5 separate regions of the Homo sapiens genome follow, and all the other regions are linked to region 1. The links are contacts of gene promoters, found by promoter capture Hi-C in blood cells and fetal thymus (Javierre and others, 2016). All regions are on one chromosome and are shown on one strand. The core of a region is centred on a gene start or on the middle of the fragment in contact, and the rest is flanking DNA. Distances in the headings are between cores, read along the strand shown. Region 1 holds the start of KCTD9 (potassium channel tetramerization domain containing 9). Region 2 overlaps ELP3 (elongator acetyltransferase complex subunit 3). Region 3 overlaps ESCO2 (establishment of sister chromatid cohesion N-acetyltransferase 2). Region 4 overlaps CCDC25 (coiled-coil domain containing 25). Region 5 overlaps CLU (clusterin).

Region 1 (2,790 bases), core at 118-2,617:
AATTCTGATTTTAAATGAGTATTAAATCTCTAAGACCAAAAGAACATAAAATTATAGCCAACAAACCACACTCTGGTTCGAATTTTCGGAGCATGTTTACTCTACACTGAATAATCGGAAAGCCATTTTTAATGCCACTGGACAATTTCACTATTTAAAAATTTACAGTGTTCCCCGAATGTGCAGGCAGCAGAGTATTTTGGCAACCAACACAGCGAGACCCATTTACCTTTACCTTAGACTCGTAAAGGCTGAGTTACTTCTAGGTATCATTTAGCAACGCAATAAATGTCTGCCTCGAACAGTGAAAATTTCCCAAAGGAGCAGAACAACTTTCATGGGTGGGGCAAAAGGCTGGGAAGGAAGAGAATTCGTTTTGGCTTGCTCCAGCGCTGGAAGAACACTGAGCACCACACTCTCCGCAAAGGCCTAACACAGCAAAGGCGACTGTCAAATCGATCCCTTTTGGGTCTGCTGTACCCGTCCTCTAGGGAATCAAAATAAGGCAAAATAATAAAAAGAGTACAGAGAAGTTTGGCGGCGGCGGGGCGTGGGGGCTTGAGGCATCTCAGAGAGGAGGGCAAAAATCAACAAGAAAATGCCCCCATTTTAAAAATCCTGTCTGCGACCTCGGATGGGAGATTTTGTTTATCCACGGGCAGTTTACTTCTGTCTCCCTGACCCATCTCCACAGGCTCTGGTGCTCGCCGCCACTTTCCGAGCAGATCATTACTCAGCACCGGAGCCGGCGCGCCTCCTCCCGCAGGCGGGAGCGGGGTCTCGGGGAGAGGCGGGAAGAGGCGCGACCGCCCGGGCGCCCAGGTGACCGCGGCCCTCCCCGCGCCCCCGTCCCCGCGCCCCCCGCACCAAGCATCCGGGAGACCCGGAGCCCCCGGGCCGAACCGCGCCGGCCCCCAGGCAGCTGAGGCACTGAAGGGCAGGCTCGGGCACGGGGGTCCTGAGGGTCGGGAGGAGGCCGCGGGGACCCTGTGCTGTCCCCGAGCGCCCCCAGCCCGCGCACGCCCACCTCCCAGCCCCTCTACCCAACTTCACCGCTGCCCCGCCAGCCGGTTCCGCACCGTCCGCCCTCGCCCCGACCCCCGGCCCGCCGCGCCCCCTCACGCCCCCGTTACCTTTCCGTTCTTGGGGCTGCCGTTCAGGAACAGGGTCACCCGCCTCATCGCGCTGCCCCCGCTGGGTCCTGAGTGAGCCGCCACCCTCCCACCTGGTCCTCCTCCCACCTTTTTCTCCTCCCGCCCTTCCCCTCCCTCCACCCACTCGGATTCGCCTCCCTTCGCCACCTTCCTGCCCTTGGGGACACACCACACGCACGCACTCTGTCCCACACCCAAGGTTCGGCCGGTCCTCCTTCCCACCCCGCCCCTAGGCTCCTCAGCCTGCCTGGGGCCCTTCCCCCACCTCTCCGAGACTGACACTCTGCCGTACCAACCAACCCGCGTCACCGGACAGAGTCCAGCCAATCAGCACCCAGTATCGGGCGGGCTCTGGCTAACCTAGCCGGGACGGAGGGAGGGAAGAGACGCTGAAGGCTAGTAGACGGGAAGGGGCATCAGCCAATCAGAGAGGCTCCTGGAGCCGGACGGCGGCTTCCAGCGTTACTGAGCAGGCGCACCCTCTAGTTTAGGTAGCGCTTATCTGCATACGAGGGCGGGGTCTGGGGAAAGGAGGTGGAGCGCTGAAAGGGACCCAAGCACCAGTCAGCCCCTCCTCCAGCGTTAGCCCCGCCCACAAGCCGGCCCAGCTAGGAAACGGCTGCGGTAGGGACGGACTGATTGGGTAAGAGCCAGCTCGTCGCTCTGTTAGGATTGGTTGAATGAGTCTTTTCGAAGTTTGCAGCATCCAATAGAAAGGTGGGAGGCGGAGTTAAAGCGCTAAGAGAAGCGTTACTCCGCGAGACTCTCCTGAAAAGTAGTCCCCGAGGTCACAAGGCAGTGGCAGGTGTCTGTAGTCCTCGGGTTGACTGCAGCTCGCGGTGGTCCCTCTCCGAGCCCAGGAAGCCACTCCAGTGCCGAGGGAGAGGCCTGGGAGCGCTCGGAGTGTGCGCGGACTGGAGAAGGGGGAGGTGGCGGAGTGATTCGTAGAGTAAATTCGGTACCGAGGGGCGGGGTCGGGGATTTGAATCGGTCGGCGGGCGGAGGAGGCGGGTGGAGGAGGCTGCCGGGCAGAGCGCAGGCCAGGATCAGCGCAGGCTGTGAGTCCAGGTCAGCCGTCGGGACCTCGGGCTCCGGGTTCGAAGAGCGGCTCCCGGCTGCGGGTGCTTTGCCAGGAGAGCCCTTCCGGACAGAGGAGCCGGGGTCTGGAAGGAGCGGCCGACGCGACGCTCGCCTGCCACGGGGCTCTGGGAGTAAGCCTGTCTGCCTGGCGGGCCTTCAGGTGCGGCGTGAGAGGTAGGATTGCATCCGCGCTGCCACGGGGCTGTTTCTCCGGGGCATTTCTAGGCACTTTGTTCGGCTTACCCTGCAGCACAGAATTAGTACTCCTGTCAGGAGCTGCTCTGGGTGACCAGGAGTGCATCCGGACCTGTTGAGAGAATTTCTGGAAATGGATAGAGCTGCGTCTTGAGAGGGGTACCCTTATGATTCAGGTTTTCGCTACGGTTGAAAAGCCATGGCTTATCCTTTGGGGTCTGCTTTGGTGCCTGAACAGCAGTTTTCTCCATTTCTTTCTGTTTAATTTGGCTTTAAAAGTACGCGCTTAGAGTAAAAGAATGGTTAGCACAGGGTGGGAAGTGTATTGGGGATGGATGGGAAGGAAGTGGAGATGGTTAAT
Region 2 (2,790 bases), core at 120-2,619, 2.6 Mb after region 1:
ACAGGTGGGTAATCTGAGTCAGAGAGCAGTTAAATAATTTGTCCAGGGGTAAGTAACTAGTAATTGGCAGAGCTGGGATTTGGAATTAGGTCAGCCGTCTCCAGAGCCCATGTTCTTCTGTGCTGCATCGCTGCACATCCTACTTTCCTTCCCTACTGTCTCAGCTGAAGCAGCAGCTTTCTGTCAGGAAAACCCTCCCTTTGGGGCCCCTGATCTAATCCAACCCTCCCCTGCTGTAGAACCTCTTTGACACATTCATCCACTTCCTCTCCATAATCATTTTCAGCTTGGACTTTCCTACAGTCTCAAATAAGAGTTGTCTTTCATCTCTGCATCTATTTTTTTTTTCAAACTATAATATATATTCACTCTATGTAGATCTTCCCTAATGAAAGGGTTCTCTCCCCAACCCCAGGTCGTCTAATCATCACATACAGGAATGACCTTTTCTTAGACTCTCTTCTCTGATACTTGAGATGCTGCAATATTTTACCCCTTCCTTGAATCCTCATGCTTAGTAAATATTTGCTACAGGAATAAGTAAATATCCTCTTTTGACTATAAAGTTATTGTATTTTACTGATTTTTCTACCGTGTCTTTAGAAGTTTTTCTTTCTTTTTTTGTTGGTTATACCCCTGATTATACAAATCTTTAATTTCTAGTGAACATTTCTACATCTTATATATATTTGTTGTTCTCTTTAATTTAGCACATCTAAAGCTAAAGCTGCCATCGTCCTTAAAACTCGCCCCTCCTCAGATGTCACCAGCCTATTACTGGAAGGTCTCTCAGTCTGGCTTCAACCTGCTTTTCCAAGTTTTTAAACCTCTGTACCTTTACATTGAAAATCTTCTGCTTTCTGTCAAGTTGGTCTGCTTGTATTTCTTAAAATATATGCATTCCTGTTTTTGCATCTGCACATAAATCAGCCTGTCTGCCCTCCATGTCATCTTTGTGTCTTTAGTGACTGAGACCTACTCTTTCTTCTGTGCTCATTTCCATGAATATCTCCCCAGCACACATCAGATTCCTCCCTGAACTCTGGAAGCATTCATTGTTGGTATGTGTGTGTGTTTTATGACATATGTTTTAATCATTTATACATTAATTTTCTTGGTACGCCTGTCTGCAAACATGTAAACATAGAACATGAAAGGACTGTGCCTTGCACATTTGAACATAGCAGGTATTCAGGCAGCCTCTTGTACGTGTTAGGTCCTCAGTTAATATTTGTTGACAAATATGTGAGCACTTCACAGATATTTCTAGATGGATTAAAGTTAGAAGACAGGGTGACTGTTAAGAGTTTGGCTAGGAGGCACAAAGAAAAGCTGGTAAAAGTTTTTTTTAAACTTTCAAAAATATGTACTTTATTTCCTATTTGGTTCTGCATAGCCATCCTTGATTTTTTTTTTAATTGTTGTTGTTGTTTTGTCTAAGACAGTAGTTGTCAACCAGGGGTGATTTCCTCCTCAGGACATTTGGCAATGTCTAGGGACATTTTTGAGTGTTACAACAGGAAGACAAGAAGAAGGCTGGTAGTACATAGAGACCAAGGATGCTGCTAAACATCCCTCAATTCGCTGGCCACCTGCCACAGCAAAGAACTGTGTGGTCCCAAACATCAGTAGTGCTGAGGTTGAGAAAGGTGGAGTCAGAATAGTCCTTTGAAGCTGCAGCACTATTCTGAACTAGATCTATATTGTGTCATCGTCCAGGGACCCTTCTCCCTCCATAGTCCTCTGGTTTTCTTTCTGGTACTCAAGGGTGGGAAGTAGTCATTCACTCGTGAATTTTATTCTTCTATTTCCCTGATAGTCACAGATCTTAAAACTATCCTTGTCACGTGGTGAAGGGATTGGAGAGTGACAGTTGTTAATGATGTTGTTTATAGATCATCCTCTTGGTAGCTTGTCCTTAAATAACCGTAATCTTGATAATGTGAGATGCTTTACTTTCAGGGTGAAAACCAAGACAGCTGCCAAATATGGCCTTTCTGCCCAGCCCCGCCTGGTGGATATCATTGCTGCCGTCCCTCCTCAGTATCGCAAGGTCTTGATGCCCAAGTTAAAGGCGAAACCCATCAGAACTGCTAGTGGGGTGAGTGATTCGACTCATGAGGTATCGACACACTGGGTATCTGTTCTGGCAGAAGTCCCTGCTCCATGTGACGCCCGTGTAGTGAGGTAGAGGTTGGGGATTCTGAACTAATGAAGTCCCTGTATTAGGATATGTGCTGGAGTGGAGACCTGTGCTGAATGCAAGGAGAGCAGAGAGAGAAAAAAATATAATTGTGATTAAAGGAGTAGATGATGTTTTGACCTCTTTAAAAATATAGATTTAGGCTTGGTGACAATCATAACAGGATAAATGTTGGCCATCTTAAGCTGGTAGCTTTCAATATAATTGATGCTTATGAAAGGTACTTTTGAAAGGTAGTTAATGGTGCAAAGTAGTTCTGTATATGGTGATTATGAGCACTGTGGAAGTCCAGACAACAGCGATGTCCCTGCAGCAAAAGGGGCTGGGGAAGGCCCAGTAGAAAGCACACAGCTTGCTTGACCCATAAGCCAAGAAGAGCAGGCTCTAAGTGTCATGGGAGCAAGGACACAGGGGCTAAGGCACAGAGGTAGAAATGACAGGAAGGGCGTGGTGCACGCAGGAAATAGCGAGTACGCCAGACTGAAGGGTGTTAACAGTTCAGGAGAGTAGGACTGTGCGTTGAACAGGTAGTTTGGGATCAGCTTGTAAAAATCTTAAGTGTCTGGCAAAGCAGCTAGATAATAGGA
Region 3 (2,790 bases), core at 148-2,647, 2.3 Mb after region 1:
TTCTTGTAATTTCTGGGTCTTTCTTTTTTCAGTAGCGTGCCTGTGGTTAGTATCTTTGTTTATCTCTGTGACACTGTTTTCTGTAGTAAAGCAGTGCATTGCGTTTTGAAAAACAAGAAACAAGGAGATCCTAGGTTAAAATTTTAGACAAAATATTAGGCTTAATTGGTCTATGGCTGTGGCCAAGTTACTTAAGCTCTCTAGAGTTGAGTGTTCTCATTATAAAATCATACCTACTCTATCTTTCACCCAAAATAATAGAAGTTAAAACTATTATGTATATTTGTGATCAAAGCCCAATTGTGAGCAGAACTTACTAAGTTTTATAAGTGACACTGAAATTAAGCATCAAGAACCATGGATTTTTGTCTAGGTTTACTAATAATTAGCTGTATGATCTAGGAAGATATCTCTAAAGAGTTAAAGTTAATTTTTAAATTCCTGTCAATTCTGAAATCCTATTCCTAATTTATGCTGTCAGTGTTCAATTAAATAGCTTACTAAACTATGAATACATAAAGCTTTTTTTTATGATTCTGAGATATGATGTTAATAACTAGTATTTACTGAGTGCTGAATATAAGGCAGTGCTAAATATTTAGTATACGTTATGTTTTTCATAGATTGTGCTCAAAGCACTGATACAATAGAAAATATAACAAAAAGGCATCTACTTAAAATAGTTATAAATTTTTCTTTTAAAATATATTTTAGTACATTGTCTAAGTCAATTTAAAGAAAAATAGTGAATAAAAATAATACAAATGGTATAAGGATATGGGAGAAATCATAAAAGTAATATAAAAAGACCAAAACTTTATTACTTAATAACTACAGTTTATCATTTAATTCTCCCTACTACTCTAGGTCCTGATATGCCCATTTATAGATGAGGAAATGGACTTGGGTTAAGTAACTTACCAATAGCAGCTCAGACTTTCACCTGCCTTGGCCTTGTTTCTAGAGGATGAGCTCTAATTATTTTTCAATGCAAAGTTAAAGTTTGTTTTTTTAGCCCACTCTCAGCTTACTATTTTCCTCAAATCAATTGCTGTTTTAACTTTGCTCTTTTCTTTTAATAGACTTTATTTTGCCATAATTTTAGATTTACAGAAAAGTTAAAGTACAGAGAGTAGCAGTGTATCTCTTACCCTGTTTCCTCCATTCTTAACATCTTATGTTATAATACTTTTGTCAAAACTAAGAAACTTGTATTGGTATAGACTTTTTTTTTTTTTTTTTGAGATGGAGTTTCACTGTGTTGCTCAGGCTGGAGTGCAGTGGCACCATCTTGGCTCACTGCAGCCTCCACCTCCAGGGTTCAAGCATTTCTCCCGCCTCAGCCTCCCAAGTAGCTGGGATTACAGGCATCCACCACCATGCCCGGCTAATTTTTGTTAAGATGGGGTTTCACCATGTTGGCCATGCTGGTCTCAAACTCCTGACCTCAAGTGATCCCCCCACTTCAGCCTCCCAGAGTGCTGGGATTACAGGCATAAGCCCTTGTGCCTGGCCCTAAGCACTAGACTTTATTTGGAGTTCACCAAATATTGGTAGTGGTATATTACTGTTAACTAAACTCTAAACTTTATTTGGAATCTTCTATTAATGTTTTCTTTCTGTCCCAGTATCCATTCCAAGGTACTATATTACGTTTAATTGTCATGTGTCTTTAGTCTTATCTGTGACATTTTCTGTCTTATTTCTTTGTTTGCATATTGCCAGCTGGACGTTGATATTTCCAACTCTAATCCAGTACTCCAGGATTTATTCTATCCTTTTTTCATCTGTAACTTCCTTCTCGGACAGTGAGACACTTAGTTCCTACTATTCACTATCCATCTACTTATTTGTTCTGTCCCAGTAAACATGTAAAACAGTTTCATAATTGTTAATTCATACCCCTGTGAGAAATAACCAATTAGAGTGCAATTTTTTTCTCTTTGAGACAGAGGCTCACTCTCACCCAGGCTGGAGTGCAATGGCGTAATCTCAGCTCACTGCAACCTCTGCCCCCAGGGTTCTAGCGATTCTCTTACCTCAGCCTCCCAAGTAGCTGGCATTACAGGTGTCTGCCACCATGCCCGGCTAATTTTTTTGTATTTTTAGTAGAGACGGGGTTTCGCCACGTTGGGCAGGGTGGTCTCAAACTCCTGACCTCAGATGATCCACCCGCCTTGGCCTCCCTTACCTTTCATCTCATAGTTCATGTTGAGGTTGAGATGAATCTTATCTAATTCAGTCTCTTTTTCTATATGTAATTATTGCTGAAGTAAGCTTTTGTGGAATCCTATATCAGCTCATGCCATTCTTCTCTAAATGTGATATATTTTCAATTTTTTCCCTTTGTAGAATTCCATATATAGTTAAATAATATATATATATTAAATAATATATTTTTTAGGATGACAGGCGTGAGCCACTGCACTCGGCCTAGAGTGCAATTTTAAGTGCAATCTTTTTGTCTTTATCCTTATAACTTCTAGTCAAAACACCATTTGCTAAAGTTACTTAGGACAGCTTCTCTTTTTCCCCCTACCTCCTTCAGTGTCGTTATGCTATACAGTTCTAATATAGTTAGATTCATTTCTCACAGTCTGCATTCCATCTTAGGCTACCTCAGTAGCCTGGTTGATATTTATATGTATTTTTTTTTCTCATTTGATGTACATTGGAGTTCATTCTTTGTGATTTTTACAGTTCTGTGGGTTTTATCAAATGTATAGAATTACGTATTAGCCATTACAGTACCATACAGAACAGTTCCTTCACCCTAAAATTTCCCTATGC
Region 4 (2,790 bases), core at 160-2,659, 2.3 Mb after region 1:
CTGAGGTCATAATTTATTGGATGTGGGTTGTAAACTGGAAATTTCTCTTCCATTTATTTAAACAAATGAAAGTCAGGTAGAAGGCTGTGGTACACTGATTTTCAGGCTGCATCTGATTATGTAACCTTCTCTATGCAGGTTTTTATGCCTCAAACCTGATAGGTTAAAAATTTCCATCAGCTAACTGCCTAACAGGTGCAGCCATTCTTATTCCCATGAGAGTCTGGAGATCTTTAAAAACAACTGAAAATCATCCAGCTGGGGTTGGCAGGAGCTCAAAATGGAGATAACCATGATGTGGCCATTGTAGGGAAATGTCCATGGAGACTGCTTCTACGCTGGCAGGGAGTCAATTAGGAAATCAACCAATATTTACTGAATACCTACTATGTGCCAGGACCTATGCTAGGTACTGGGGACATAGTAGTTAATGAAATAGGTGATCATTGTCCTCATACAGCTTACTGTCTCAGGCCCTAGGAAGGCGGGCAGCCCCAGTCTGGATGTTTTCAGCATTGCACACTGCCCACTTGAGGCAAAAGAGCACCAAGCAGGGTTTAACTTGATGACATATTTGGATTTAGAAGACAGGTTTTTGTGCTGGAATAGGGACCAGATTTAAATAAGCCTTTAAAATTCCTTTGTTCTGGCTGGGCGCGGTGGCTCACGCCTCTAATCCCAGCACTTTGGGAGTCCAACGCGGGTAGATCACCTGAGGTTAGGAGTTCGAGACCAGCCTGGCCAATGTGGTGATAGCCCCAGTCTCTACTAAAAATACAAAAAATTAGCCAGGCATGATGATGGGTGCCTGTAGTCCCAGCTACTCGGGAGGCTGAGGCAGGAGAATCTCTTGAACTAGGGAGGCAGAGGTTACAGTGAGCCGAGATCGCACCATTGCACTCCAGCCTCGGCAACAAGGGCGAAACTCCGTCTCAAAAAAAAAAAGAAAATTAAATCAACTCTTCTAAAAAGCAGTAGCCCAACTCTATCACTAGAGGGAAATAAGTGAAGGGTCTGTGTCCACATTTGGAGAAAAGAGGTCCAGAGAGAGCTGCAGCAACAGCCTGGGAGAAGAAAGGAGCTGAAGCCAAAAGAGCAGCAGCCTGGAGAAGACAGAAGCAGTGACTTAGAACCAGAGCCAGAGCCAGTAGCAGACAGAGCAGACCCAGTCAGTTTCTCTTAACCTTAATTTCCTCATCTGAAAAAATGGGCATAAATATTAATATCTATTTCACAGGGTTGTTGTGAAGTTAAATGTATTAATGGAGGTAAACACTTAGTAGTATTTGGCATATAGTTAAGTGCTTGACAGATATTCACTATCATAATAAAGCAAACGGGACCCAGGTGCCTTTATCTTCAGGGATAGCATTTGGTAGGAGGTATGAGGAGTCAGGAAGATGATATCCCACTCCATAGGCAGGACTGTGCTCTAGAAGAGAGGCAATACTAGGGTCAGAGTCAGTGGTGGAAGCTGAAGATGAAGAAAACGAAAGTAGACTGGGTGTGACAGTGTTATAGGACAGAAGCCCATGTATTCATAAAAGGCCCCAGGTCTGAATGGTAGAAGTCTATATGGTGTTCTAAGACAGAGAAAAGAATTCAGCTTAAATGAAGTCTTTTTGTTTGTTTGGTATTCTTTTTTTTTGGACTGGGTTTTGTGAGCAAAATAAATGATCTCAAAAGGAGACTAAGAAAGTATATGTTATTATTTAAAACAGTTCACATAAATTGTTTTAGAAAGAAGGCGTCGGGGTTGGATCAAGACAGAGCTAAACTCATCAGGGAGTTTAGAAGACAAAGGGGAACAAGTGTGCTTCCTTTAAAGCTGGACCAGTAAGAACCTCCGTCTATTCCATCCGCATGGATGCTTGTATCTATTTTCTTCATTGCTTCATGTGAAGTCTTCATTTTTCCACTCAAGAACAGTGGTCTGAATATTTAAGTGAGGTGTGGTCTCAGTAACTTACTATGGCGTGGAGACAAAAAGGAGGAAAAAGAAGGCCTGTGTCCTAGAGGCCTTTGCTCTCAAGCCTGAGATCAAACCCAAAAACATCATTTCCAACTTGCAAGGTAATTAGAAATGAAGGAACTGGCAGTCAGCTGTTTAACCCTGAAGACCCATAAACCACAGTACAAAGCATGATTCTAGTTTGAATGCTTGGCCAAGTCTAAGAAAGGAAATGATGATCTACAGAGGGCAGAACCAAAATTGTTACTTACCAGATATCTTCAGGCCAGCCATGCTTGATCAGATCTTCATCTGCAATGAGATATGAGAAACGAAAGAAACAAAAACTGTCAAATGAAGATATGCCAGGGTTTATAAGAATGGGAGAAATGTCAGCTCCTCCCACAAATTTCTCTCTCCCTCAATGAAGAAGAGTAATTCGGAGGCCTTGATGCTTGAAAATACAGAAAAAATAATAATTTTCATAATTGAACAATATGAACTTTATAATTTTTATAAATTTATATAATACTTCTAATCTAAAGCTCAGATATTATTTCTATATGAAGATAATAAAACTAACACTGACAAAACAAAGCAACCAATAGTTCAGATGTTTCAGATAATCAATTCACCTAATAATACTTAAACATTAAAAAGAACTGGCTGAAACTTTAAAGAAATATTTTACTTCTTTAAGAAAAATTAACTTGATTATAAAATTACAGAAAATTTAAAACAAAACAAACATTAGAAGTATAAAAAGAAAATAAAAATCACCTTAAATTCTATCACACATGGAAATAAAACACCAGAAGAAATAGCTAACAGAGTGAAAA
Region 5 (2,790 bases), core at 77-2,576, 2.1 Mb after region 1:
ACCCATGAGAGATTGTATCTTATTACAATTTTCTGGCAGATGACAGTTGAGTGTCAACAGAGGGGCTCAGCAGGGTTGGTGCTGCCTCCCTTTCCAGACAGATGTCAAATCCCTCTCTTCTCAGCACATCAAGCCCTGCTCCCCCTTTGCCACAAGAGTCCTAGAAGCCAGACACTAAGGGCTCAGGGTCCGCAGTCCCCCAGGCAGAATTAGCCTCATCTCATCCCCACACCTTGGTGACATCATGTGCTGACTCAGTCTTCCCAGTGCCTCATGTTGGAACCTCTGTCAGGGATGGAGAGACATCTAAGGACCCCCAACCCCAGGCCACTGTGCAGAGGGGTAAGGAGGTGCAGAGAAGGGGTCTCAGGAAGCTTTAGAGCCAGCTTTAGGATCTGTCTTTCAGGGTGCTAGTATTTAAGAGTGTAAAAAAAAAATCCAAAACACTGGATATAAAGGCCTGGCACGGTGGCTCACGCCTATAATCCCAGCACTTTGGGAGGCTGAGGCAGGCGGATCGCTTGAGGCCAGGAGTTCGAGACCAGCCTGGCCAACATGGTGAAACCCTGTCTCTACTAAAAATACAAAAATTAGCCAGGTGTGGTGGTACGTGCCTGTAGTCCCAGCTACTCAGGAGGCTGAGGCAGGAGAACTGCTTGAACCTTGGAGGTGGAGGTTGTAGTGACCCGAGATTGCACCACTGCACTCCAGCCTGGGCAACAGAGTGAGACTCTGTCTCGGGGGGCGGGGGGGGGGGGAAGCAGCAACCAAAAAACCCACTGAATATAGTGAGTTCCAGAGTCTAGCAACATAACAGTGGAAAAGAAAAAGTAACTTTTGAAACAGTGTGACATTAATGTGACAATGTGACATATACTTTACAATTATGATCACTTAAGCAAATACCTCTGACCCCATAATTCTAATTAATGTATATCATTAAGTGAATCACACTGACTTTACTCTGAATTTCCTTGACAGCCATGCTAAAATACTTACCTTGGACATAAGCTAAGCTTTAAGTTTGTTGTTTATAACTTCAAAGAGAGACAAGGGACAGTGACTTAAGAATATTCTAAGCTATAAATTTACATGTGGACTTTGCTACACACCTGGGATGCAGCCAGATGAGTTTTGTTCCATTGCAGTACATCTGATGACCAGAATTCTATCAGAGAATGTTAATGAACGAAAAGCCTGAGCTTTAAGACTGAGATTGGTACCACGGGTAGTCATGGCCACCTGCTGGCAGCGTAGGGTACTGCAGCCCAGCTATGGTTCAGACTAAAAGCCGAGAAACGCCTGTGGTCCAGGGAAAGGTATGAAGATCATATAAACCGGCGGTGGACAGGAAATGCCACAGTCAAGAAGATGCCCCTGGGATGCTGAGCTCTTACAACTCGAAATCAACAGCTTTTACAAATAAAACCGCTGCAAAAGCAATAGCTCTTACAAATAAAACTGATAATTTGGACTTCTGGGCACCAAATGTTTTCATAACGAAAACATCAATTATGCATTATAATACCAAGTACACCTTACACTTACTGATTCTTCTCCTTAACTTTCAGTGTATTCCTTTAGGAGATTGTCGCACCTTGGTCAGAATACATCGACAGTTTTATAATAGAACAGAAAAGCTTCCATTTGCAGCAATATATTTTAGTTGGCTTGTTGAAACACATCTCTCTTCCTGAAAGCAAGCAATTCTTGAAGTGGATCAACCTTGTCATCATATCCCTTTTATTCTTCACCCTTTTATTCTTCACTGGTATGACAGTCCCTATACCATCTTAGCCACTGCTTTTTTGTTTCTACTTATTTTCCATCCCCCCTGCCTGCCCCCCATAGCAAAATGAAGGCATGCCGGGAAGCAGCAACTCAACATAAAAAGAGGACCCTCCAAGCGATCAGCTCACAAGACAGTTTTATTGAATTAGTTGCATGCAGGAGCAATTCTGTTCTTCCCATGAGCAGCAGAGTCGAGTGTTAGAGTGCAGGATCCAGAGCGGGGAGAGGCTGGGCGGAGTTGGGGGCCTGGAGGCTGGGGCCTGGTTACTTGGTGACGTGCAGAGCTCTCTCTGGGGGGCTGCAGCTCATCTTGGGGGGAGCTGGACTCAGATGCCCCCGTAGGTGCAAAAGCAACATCCACATCTCACTCCTCCCTGAAATAAAAAACAGTTATCCTCCAAAGTAAAACATCCTCCAAAGGAAAAATAAAATTCCCCCGTAACTTCCTGGCTTTGTTCTTGGGCTCTGGCTCCGGGCGGAGTCGTTCCCACCAGGCTATAGAGTCTGCACTTTGTTTGTTTTTTTGTGGCTCCCAGAGACTCACTGGGCCCTGCAGGCCCGCAGGAAAGGCCCGCCTGCTTACCGGTGCTTTTTGCGGTATTCCTGCAGCGCTTTCTCCGCCACGGTCTCCATAAATTTAGGGTTCTTCCTGGAGACTTCTACAGGGACCGTCACAGTGATGGGATCAGAGTCAAAGAGCTTCACGACCACCTCAGTGACACCGGAAGGAACGTCCGAGTCAGAAGTGTGGGAAGCCACCTAAATGGAACAAGAGAAAAGGGAAGAGCTGAAACACTGTGGTCAAAATGCATGCGCTCTGCAACAGAAGTCAGGCTTCTGATAAGGAAGTCCTCCTGCTTCTCCAAGGAAACCTAGAGAGCTGACCCCATGCTTCTTATACATCTAGACGTAAGTACAGCTCAGTGGACAGAACGGACCTGGTTCACAGACACTCATGTGTTGGGGCAAATGTCATCTGCAAATGACCAGCCCAGGGAG

Evidence for each region. Contacts are between HindIII fragments. The CHiCAGO score rates a contact against its expected background, and 5 or more counts as called.
Region 2: a contact is called between a fragment that was not itself captured here and the fragment with the promoter of KCTD9 in region 1, in 1 of 17 cell types (neutrophils). The highest score is 7.5, in neutrophils.
Region 3: a fragment that was not itself captured here is called in contact with the fragment with the promoter of KCTD9 in region 1 in 1 of 17 cell types (naive CD4 T cells); the score reaches 5.5 in naive CD4 T cells.
Region 4: a contact is called between a fragment that was not itself captured here and the fragment with the promoter of KCTD9 in region 1, in 2 of 17 cell types (non-activated CD4 T cells and total CD4 T cells). The highest score is 8.1, in non-activated CD4 T cells.
Region 5: a fragment that was not itself captured here is called in contact with the fragment with the promoter of KCTD9 in region 1 in 1 of 17 cell types (fetal thymus); the score reaches 6.1 in fetal thymus.

Annotation. Positions count from the first base shown.
Region 1 is chr8:25,457,066-25,459,855 of GRCh38, forward strand. KCTD9 (potassium channel tetramerization domain containing 9) reads right to left here and starts at 1,368. Exons shown (of 12, transcript NM_017634.4): 1 at 1,134-1,368. The coding sequence starts at 1,181. It overlaps CDCA2 (cell division cycle associated 2), which reads left to right and starts at 2,168. Exons shown (of 15, transcript NM_152562.4): 1 at 2,168-2,408. RefSeq lists enhancers at 417-466, 1,837-2,066 and silencers at 1,077-1,126, 1,487-1,696. The HindIII fragment of the contact is 4,823 bases long and covers 1-2,790 here.
Region 2 is chr8:28,097,866-28,100,655 of GRCh38, forward strand. ELP3 (elongator acetyltransferase complex subunit 3) reads left to right here. Exons shown (of 15, transcript NM_018091.6): 3 at 1,963-2,101. Among named protein-coding and RNA genes, the nearest start is that of ELP3, 6.1 kb to the left of the region's middle. The HindIII fragment of the contact is 3,785 bases long and covers 1-2,790 here.
Region 3 is chr8:27,780,337-27,783,126 of GRCh38, forward strand. The region is part of intron 4 of ESCO2 (establishment of sister chromatid cohesion N-acetyltransferase 2); the gene reads left to right. Among named protein-coding and RNA genes, the nearest start is that of ESCO2, 7.2 kb to the left of the region's middle. The HindIII fragment of the contact is 1,756 bases long and covers 520-2,275 here.
Region 4 is chr8:27,760,196-27,762,985 of GRCh38, forward strand. It overlaps CCDC25 (coiled-coil domain containing 25), which reads right to left. Exons shown (of 9, transcript NM_018246.3): 3 at 2,224-2,263. Among named protein-coding and RNA genes, the nearest start is that of CCDC25, 11 kb to the right of the region's middle. The HindIII fragment of the contact is 4,892 bases long and covers 1-2,790 here.
Region 5 is chr8:27,596,086-27,598,875 of GRCh38, forward strand. It overlaps CLU (clusterin), which reads right to left. Exons shown (of 9, transcript NM_001831.4): 8 at 2,375-2,550; 9 at 832-2,165. The coding sequence ends at 2,156. It overlaps LOC124901919 (a long non-coding RNA gene), which reads left to right. Exons shown (of 2, transcript XR_007060868.1): 2 at 982-1,474. Among named protein-coding and RNA genes, the nearest start is that of MIR6843, 13 kb to the right of the region's middle. The HindIII fragment of the contact is 624 bases long and covers 1,015-1,638 here.